Linked DNA regions of Homo sapiens: all the other regions are linked to region 3. The links are contacts of gene promoters, found by promoter capture Hi-C in human tissues and cell types (Jung and others, 2019). All regions are on one chromosome and are shown on one strand. The core of a region is centred on a gene start or on the middle of the fragment in contact, and the rest is flanking DNA. Distances in the headings are between cores, read along the strand shown. Region 1 overlaps NFATC1 (nuclear factor of activated T cells 1). Region 2 overlaps ATP9B (ATPase phospholipid transporting 9B (putative)). Region 3 holds the start of CTDP1 (CTD phosphatase subunit 1).

What was found. Contacts are between HindIII fragments. The study calls those that stand out against the background at their distance.
Region 1: a fragment that was not itself captured here is called in contact with the fragment with the promoter of CTDP1 in region 3 in 3 of the 25 tissues and cell types used here (dorsolateral prefrontal cortex, mesendoderm cells and spleen).
Region 2: a fragment that was not itself captured here is called in contact with the fragment with the promoter of CTDP1 in region 3 in 4 of the 25 tissues and cell types used here (H1 embryonic stem cells, dorsolateral prefrontal cortex, lymphoblastoid cells and 1 more).

The regions. Positions count from the first base shown.
Region 1 is chr18:79,405,076-79,407,775 of GRCh38, forward strand. All of the region lies in intron 1 of NFATC1 (nuclear factor of activated T cells 1), which reads left to right. Among named protein-coding and RNA genes, the nearest start is that of NFATC1, 10 kb to the left of the region's middle. RefSeq lists enhancers at 1-538, 1,729-2,322 and a silencer at 2,345-2,506. The HindIII fragment of the contact is 7,440 bases long and covers 1-2,700 here.
Region 2 is chr18:79,357,356-79,360,055 of GRCh38, forward strand. ATP9B (ATPase phospholipid transporting 9B (putative)) reads left to right here. Exons shown (of 30, transcript NM_198531.5): 26 at 1,999-2,107. Among named protein-coding and RNA genes, the nearest start is that of NFATC1, 37 kb to the right of the region's middle. The HindIII fragment of the contact is 5,046 bases long and covers 1-2,700 here.
Region 3 is chr18:79,678,370-79,681,069 of GRCh38, forward strand. It overlaps CTDP1 (CTD phosphatase subunit 1), which reads left to right and starts at 1,434. Exons shown (of 13, transcript NM_004715.5): 1 at 1,434-1,892. The coding sequence starts at 1,579. It overlaps CTDP1-DT (CTDP1 divergent transcript), which reads right to left and starts at 1,376. Exons shown (of 5, transcript NR_136643.1): 1 at 1,025-1,376. RefSeq lists enhancers at 559-1,066, 1,067-1,575. The HindIII fragment of the contact is 29,025 bases long and covers 1-2,700 here.

The DNA.
Region 1 (2,700 bases), core at 174-2,673, 270 kb before region 3:
CTCCCCGCGTGGCCGTCTGTCCTAGCACCCCCAAACCACCTGTGTGTCGTGGGGCACCTGATGGCTGAGCGAGCCGGTGAGGATCAGGGGACTCAAAAGTGAGGAGGTGGCACTTTCAGCAGAGGGGCCATGCCATGACCTTCCGTTAAGGGATTTTGAATGTGCTCTCCGCGATCATTGCTTAGAATCCAGCTGTCTCCCTGCTCACCTGCACTGTCATTTAGTGAATCCTCCTTGGCAAAGAGCCAGGCCCTCCGACACGGCAGCCAGGGAGTGGGGTCACCGAGCTCTGTGGTGGTGTCTGACGTGACATGAATCAGCCCAAGCGCCTCAGAATCGTCAAGAAAGTTACTGGGAATATTTTCCCTTCATGTAAATATGATCCCTTTGAATAGTTAAATAACTCAGATTTGAATACGGTTTAGGTGGGTCATGAAACCAAATTCATTGGGAGCTGGGAGGGAGGGGCTCACAGCCAGGACAGTGGCCCCCGGCGTGTGGGGCTTGGCCTCTGGGGGCAGCTTGACCCCACACCTTGCCCTTCTTCTAGGAGGAACAAGGGAACTTTATCCACTACCCGCCCTCCAAGGACCTGGGCGAGGGATCCTAATGAAATTCAAGCATTTGAGCTTTCGTTTTGTCATTTGTTTGATCAGGGAAAACGCATGCTTAGGTGAGCCCTTTTTGTTTTTTAATAAAGCTTTATGGTGTTTCTTTGCCTCATCGAATCAGGTTTTATTGCAATACTTCAGTTTAAATAAAGGCCCTCGGGTGCCCCAGGCGTCCGTGGGCCTCTGCATGCACTTCCTGCTCTCGCTGTGGGCGGAGTCTCCTCCTCTTCCTCACTTCCCCTCACGCCTGGGCCCCCGTCACAGAAACGTCAAGGGCTACGGCCCCTGAGGACTTGCACACAGAGACCTGTGAGGTCCGCCTCCCCTTTCCTGCCCCGTTTCATCTAGAACCTTCCGGTGATCTGGCTCTAGTACCCCGTGTGGCGCAGCTCTGGGCTCCGTCACTGGCTGAGCAGCCAGTTCAGGGCTGAGTCCTGTGGGAGGATGGTGGGGAGGCCCCAAGACTTGCTCTGTTAATTGCTAGGGTTTTAAAAAATTCTTCAGAATTACCTTTCTACCAGCAAATGGTAGTTCAGCTGTGGGATCAGCTGTCTTGGAAATAAATACTCTTTTGATTGGGAAACAGGAAGTGTAGGAATCTGTACATGAATCAATTGCAGTTAAGCCCCCTTTGAGGTCTGGACAGTGAGGGGAAGTGTGTGGAGCAGGTGGGGCCTGAAGAGCCGGTTGAAGGCCACGGATGCCTCCGAGAGGAAGTCGGGGTGTGGGAGGGAGGCTGGGCCCCCGTGATCGGATCCACGCTGCCATCGTGTTCCCTCAGTTCCGCTGCTGTGCTTTCGGGTCTCCTGGAGTTGATGACTGGTGTGAGATGGAAGCTGGTTCCTAACATAATGTTGTTTCTGCTCCAACAGGCGAGAGGGCTTCTAGACAAATAAGCGGGCCCAGCAGTAAGTGTGGGTGTGAGTTCCTGGGCCGGTGTATGTAATGTGGCGTTTTTGGCTAAGGAATATCTTTTGGACAACTTTTGGTGAGAATGCAGAGTAATGAACAGGTGGCTCGGCGTGGCACCTCAACGGGAACCCCCCAGGAGCCGCAGGCCTGCGCTCGACAAAACCCCCTCGTGGGTCCCCCACCGCGCCTTCCTTCTGTCCACCGTTGGACTGCGTCCCTGTGCTTCCCCCGAGACCCCCAGCCGCAGAGCCAGCCACGGCTCCGCGGGTCTTCCGCAGCGCTCCATGCGGGGCAGACGTCAGGGCTGGCCTGGCACGGTCACCCAGGCGTGTGGGGCGTGGGGCACAGGGCGACCTGCCTGTGTGGCCTGTTGTCCAGCGGGTCTGATGCAGCCGGCTCAGGGGCTTTGCACGGGCCACGGAGGGGCCACCGTGACGCCCAGGCGGAGCTCTCAGAGGGCTACAGTTTGCCTGGCCCAGAGCCCCCCAGGTATCACCAGCAGATCAGAGGACTTCAGATTCTCCTCGGAAACCTCACCTTCTCCCGGAAGCTGCTTTCCAGGCTCATTTTTAGAAAGTTGGTCACAGAAGTTTTAGCGTTGGGGCCTGGTGTTTGCCTGAAGCATCCAGTGAGCATGGAGCCTGGGGGCGGGGGGCACAGTGGATGCCAGTGAACATGGGTGGTCAGTCCCAGAGCTGGCGTCTTGCAGCTGGGGCAGATCCTGGGGATGGTGTGTGTGTCCTGACCAGAGGCCAGGCTGGAGGCTGGAATTGGCGTCAGGATGCCCAGCTCCAGCTCCACCCCAGTCCCTGCCTGTGGCTCTGGGGAAAGAAAGACCTCCTTATTGATTTATTGATTTATTGATTTGACAGGGTCTTGCTGTGTCGCCCAGGCTGGAGTGCAGGCTGGAGTGATCTCAGCTCACTGCAACCTCTGCCTCCTGGGCTCAAGCAATCCTGCTGCCTCAGCCTCCCAAGTAGCTGGGACTACAGGCGTGCGCCACCATGCCTGGCTACTTGTATTTTTTGTAGAGATAGGGTTTCATCATGTTGCCCAGATTGGTCTTGAACTTCTGACCTCAGATGATCCGCCCACCTCGGCCTCCCAAAGTGCTGGGATTATAGGCGTGAGCCACCGCGCCTGGCCACCTCCTTGATTTATTGACATTACTGTTCTC
Region 2 (2,700 bases), core at 174-2,673, 320 kb before region 3:
GGTCTGGAGGTGTCCGTGTGAGGGACCCTGTGTGAGGGGTGTCCTGGGTCTGGAGGTGTCTGTGTGAGGGACCCTGTGTGAGGGATGCTCTGGGTCTGGAGGTGTCTGTGTGAGGGGTGCCCTGGGTCTGGAGGTGTCCGTGTGAGGGACCCTGTGTGAGGGGTGCCCTGGGTCTGGAGGTGTCTGTGTGAGGGGTGTCCTGGGTCTGGAGGTGTCCGTGTGAGGGACCCTGTGTGAGGGATGCTCTGGGTCTGGAGGTGTCTGTGTGAGGGGTGCCCTGGGTCTGGAGGTGTCTGTGTGAGGGACCCTGTGTGAGGGGTGCTCTGGGTCTGGAGGTGTCTGTGTGAGGGGTGTCCTGGGTCTGGAGGTGTCCGTGTGAGGGACCCTGTGTGAGGGATGCTCTGGGTCTGGAGGTGTCTGTGTGAGGGACCCTGTGTGAGGGGTGCTCTGGGTCTGGAGGTGTCTGTGTGAGGGGTGCCCTGGGTCTGGAGGTGTCCGTGTGAGGGACCCTGTGTGAGGGGTGCTCTGGGTCTGGAGGTGTCTGTGTGAGGGGTGTCCTGGGTCTGGAGGTGTCCGTGTGAGGGACCCTGTGTGAGGGATGCTCTGGGTCTGGAGGTGTCCGTGTGAGGGACCCTGTGTGAGGGATGCTCTGGGTCTGGAGGTGTCTGTGTGAGGGGTGCCCTGGGTCTGGAGGTGTCCGTGTGAGGGACCCTGTGTGAGGGGTGCCCTGGGTCTGGAGGTGTCTGTGTGAGGGGTGCCCTGGGTCTGGAGGTGTCCGTGTGAGGGACCCTATGTGAGGGATGCTCTGGGTCTGGAGGTGTCTGTGTGAGGGGTGCCCTGGGTCTGGAGGTGTCCGTGTGAGGGACCCTGTGTGAGGGGTGCTCTGGGTCTGGAGGTGTCTGTGTGAGGGGTGCCCTGGGTCTGGAGGTGTCCGTGTGAGGGACCCTGTGTGAGGGGTGCCCTGGGTCTGGAGGTGTCTGTGTGAGGGGTGCCCTGGGTCTGGAGGTGTCCGTGTGAGGGACCCTGTGTGAGGGGTGCCCTGGGTCTGGAGGTGTCTGTGTGAGGGGTGCTCTGGGTCTGGAGGTGTCCGTGTGAGGGACCCTGTGTGAGGGGTGCTCTGGGTCTGGAGATGTCTGTGTGAGGGGTGTCCTGGGTCTGGAGGTGTCCGTGTGAGGGACCCTGTGTGAGGGATGCTCTGGGTCTGGAGGTGTCTGTGTGAGGGACCCTGTGTGAGGGATGCTCTGGGTCTGGAGGTGTCTGTGTGAGGGGTGCCCTGGGTCTGGAGGTGTCCGTGTGAGGGACCCTGTGTGAGGGGTGCTCTGGGTCTGGAGGTGTCTGTGTGAGGGGTGCCCTGGGTCTGGAGGTGTCCGTGTGAGGGACCCTGTGTGAGGGATGCTCTGGGTCTGGAGGTGTCTGTGTGAGGGGTGTCCTGGGTCTGGAGGTGTCCGTGTGAGGGACCCTGTGTGAGGGGTGCTCTGGGTCTGGAGGTGTCTGTGTGAGGGGTGCCCTGGGTCTGGAGGTGTCTGTGTGAGGGACTCTGTGTGAGGGGTGCTGTGGGTCTGGAGGTGTCTGTGTGAGGGACCCTGTGTGAGGGGTGCTCTGGGTCTGGAGGTGTCCGTGTGGATGCTGGTGGTGAGGTTCACACTACAGTTATCTAAGATGTTACCATTGGGAGAACTGGGTAAAGATCACATAAGATCTCGGTGCTATTCCTGACAACTGCATGTGAGTCTACAATGATCTCAACATAGAAAGGTAAACATTTTTAAAAATCATTCTTCTACCCGTAAGCATTTGTGACTTATAGAACATGCTACTGTGCTCTGAGATAAATACTCAGTCTCCGCAATCATCTTACTTGGTTGCCAACTTACTTTGTTGGTTTTTGTGGAGTATTTTTTGGTGTTTTTGAAGCTGTGACCTCTAATCCAGAGGTCTGTTTCTAGCTGTGTGGTAGAAGTTTCTCACGCCCATTGCACTCCGCTCTTGGTCTTGCAGGTATGCCACCATATACACCATGTTCCCAGTGTTCTCCTTAGTGCTGGACCAGGACGTGAAGCCAGAGATGGCGATGCTCTACCCGGAGCTGTACAAGGACCTCACCAAGGTACGGGCCTCAGGCAAGCTGTCTGCCTCACGACTAGCACCCACATCTAGCATTTTACACGAGTGAGAAACAGGCCAGTCAGGAGGCATTTCCAGGCATTTTGTGAAAAACGATTCTCTGTCCTTGAAGATGTTTTTTATGTCTCCTAATTGTTGTTGGCATTTTCTCTTTGAGTTAAACTTCAAAAGGGGAAAAACATCTCAGGGAAAAAAATTTCTCAAATGTTTGCAATAAAGCTCTAATATCATACATACAATTAGAATTGTAAAAGATATTCTAACCATTTGTGGAACTTTTGTGAAGTGAGCTCACCAAATGTCAGAGAAGATCTCACTGTGTAATTTCTGTAGAAAGGCTCCCCCGGACAGCGTCACTGCACCTGCTGCAGAAATAGCATTCCAAAGCTGGGGAACCCATGGGCTGCATGTTTCCTGTGTATTTCCAAGTTTGTCAGTAGTTGTGGATTTCAGAATTATCCCTGAAAAGTGATAACATGTGTCTGTCCCTAGGGTCCATAGACTATTTTTGCAGTGATGTCACCAAGAAAAAAATCCACCCCAGAAAACTTCAGTCACCTGAAACTCTGAGAAAGA
Region 3 (2,700 bases), core at 184-2,683:
AACATATAGTCAGTCACTAATCAATGTTATTTCTGTAAACCAGTGAGAATTCCTCACAAACAAGTTCCTATTAGTCCACTCCCTGGCCCCCTTTTTTGCCTTTAAAATCCACTGTTAACTGCTAATCGGAGTACACATTCAGGGCGCCTTGAATTTGTGCTCAAGTGTGGCCCAAATAAACTCTCTACTTAGAGAAACTGTGTCTCCGCTCGTTTTCAGGCCGACAGTTTCCAAAATGTTAGTATTCAGCCTAACATGAGAAAAGTCACCATATAAAAGTGAGGGGGGAAAAGCAAATACAGGATAATCTCAATTGTATATAAAATTTATATACGTAAGGACAAAGATACATAGTAAAAAAAAAATTCTGGCAGGTATTAAGGCTGAAAAAATTAAAACAGTCCAGAGCGGTCTGGCTCAGGCCAGCCTGGGCCTGCCGAGTAGCTGGGACCTCAGCCACCGCGCCTGGCTAAGTATTAATGAATCTGTTTTAGAGATAGGGTCTTGCTACGTTGCGCAGGCTGGTCTCCAACTCCCAGGCTCAGGTGATCCGCCCGCCACAGCCTCCCGAAGTGCTGAGCCTCCCAAAGTGCTGAGACTACAGGCCTGGCCGCCCGCCCGCCAGCTTAATTCACGTAAATTCCAGACAAACGTAGAAAGTGGCTCCTTTAGTAAGCCACTTGCGGCTGCTGCTCATCAGGGTTCGCCTGGGGCCACTGAGACCACGCGCCGGTGCCCGCCCTCCCGCTGCGGTCCGATTTTCTGAACCAACCAGGCGCTTCCGGGCGCCTTGCCCCAGACGGGCCCACCGCCTGCGCGGGCCGAGGGCGGCGCACCTGCCCCTGCGCTTCCGCATCGAAGGTGAGGTCGGAGGAAGAGAAGACCGCAACCCCCAAGCTCCCGCGGCGTGGGGTCCGGGGGGGGACACGAGGCGGGGCCACCAGGACGCCGACAGCCTCACGTCTCTGGGCCCGCGGCGCGCAAGGCATGCCGGGACCCGTAGTCCCGCGACGTTGCGACTCACAGTGCGCGATGGGAGTGGAGGAGAGCGGCTCGCGGTGCATGCCGGAACTCGTAGTCTCGGGATGCTGGGTCTCAGCGCGTGATGGGGTAATGGCACGCAGGCCTGCGTTGAACGCTGGGACTCGTAGTCCCGCCATGCTCTGTCCGCGGTGCACGCCGGGATACGTAGTTCCGAGCGCGCCAAGACCGTCACTGGGACTGGGCGACAGCGGCCCGCGTTGCATGCCGCTGCTCCACGGTGCCGGCGCTCCGAGGAAAAGTAGGTAGGGCTCAGGAACGCAGTTCTTCACGGCCGGCACGCAGGGTTGGTCCCAGGACGGAGCCGGCTCCGGCCCCGCGCGGCGCTCGTATTTACACGCGCACGTACGCACGTACGCGGCGCCCTTGCGTGACGTCACGCGCCCTCCAGGAAGTCGGCGCGGGCTAGGCGACGGGTGGAAGCCGGTACCGAGAGGAACTACAGCGTCGCCGCCTGGGTTGTGTCGCCGCGGTAGGCGCTGCGCTCTGAGCGCAGCGCAGGCCCCGTACCGACCGCCCGCCCGCCCTCTGTCCGCGATGGAGGTGCCGGCCGCGGGTCGCGTTCCTGCCGAGGGCGCCCCGACGGCGGCTGTGGCCGAGGTGCGCTGCCCGGGGCCCGCGCCGCTGCGCCTGCTGGAGTGGAGGGTGGCGGCGGGCGCGGCCGTGCGCATCGGCTCGGTGCTGGCCGTGTTCGAGGCCGCCGCCTCCGCGCAGTCCTCCGGGGCCTCTCAGTCCCGTGTAGCCTCCGGGGGCTGCGTGCGCCCCGCGCGGCCGGAACGCAGGCTGAGGTCGGAGCGCGCGGGCGTGGTGCGGGAGCTGTGCGCGCAGCCGGGCCAGGTGGTCGCCCCAGGGTGAGTGTGCTGAGCCGGGCGGGGCCGAGGGCGGGCGGCTCCGGGGAGGGATCCTGGAGGACCCCCGGGCTGCTGCGTCCGCGGTGGGCAGGGGCGCCCCTGGTGAGGGAGCGATAAAGCGGGACGCAGGCACTGCGCTTCTCCCCTAAAACTGGATAGTCACCACCTGTGGTTTTACCAACGGGGAGCATTTTGAGATAAAAGGAAAGGGTCCTGCGTAGCGACACGAAGTTACTGTTTGGAAAAGCTATGTTTGTTTCTTTCTTTCTGCAGTGATAGTCCCCGCCCCTTCCTTTAGCTCCACCTTTGTGACTTAGGAAAACTCATGGGTGGCTGTGAGCACAAGAGTCATCAGGCAGGCTCCAGACCTGTTATTGAAATATAAACTGTTGGGTGTGTGCACATCTTTAAATTTTTGTAAACTTTGTGAAACGCAGTTGTAAAACCTGGTGCAGTTCTGTTTCGTGGCTAAGGAACGGGCGGAACCCAGGCCTGCAGCGAAGGCAGTAGCCCCGTGGTTGACCACAGTGGGCATTGTCGCAGGCTGCTTCAGGGTGACGTGGGCGTTGTGACAGACTCCACAGCTCTCAGTAGCTGTGCTCTGACCCCAGAAGGGGATATGTTTCCGTAGCACCGAAGTGTCCAGCCATGTTTGAATCTACCCTTGTGTTCTGGGATGGGCGGGCAAGTGGACACGCGTGTGCGCCTGGCTCTGGTAGTTTTGATTGTGAGAACAGAAACTCCAGGGAGAGGTGGACACTCCAGCCCGCAGTGGGCCGGGCGTGAGCTCCCTCTGGGAAAGGTGCCG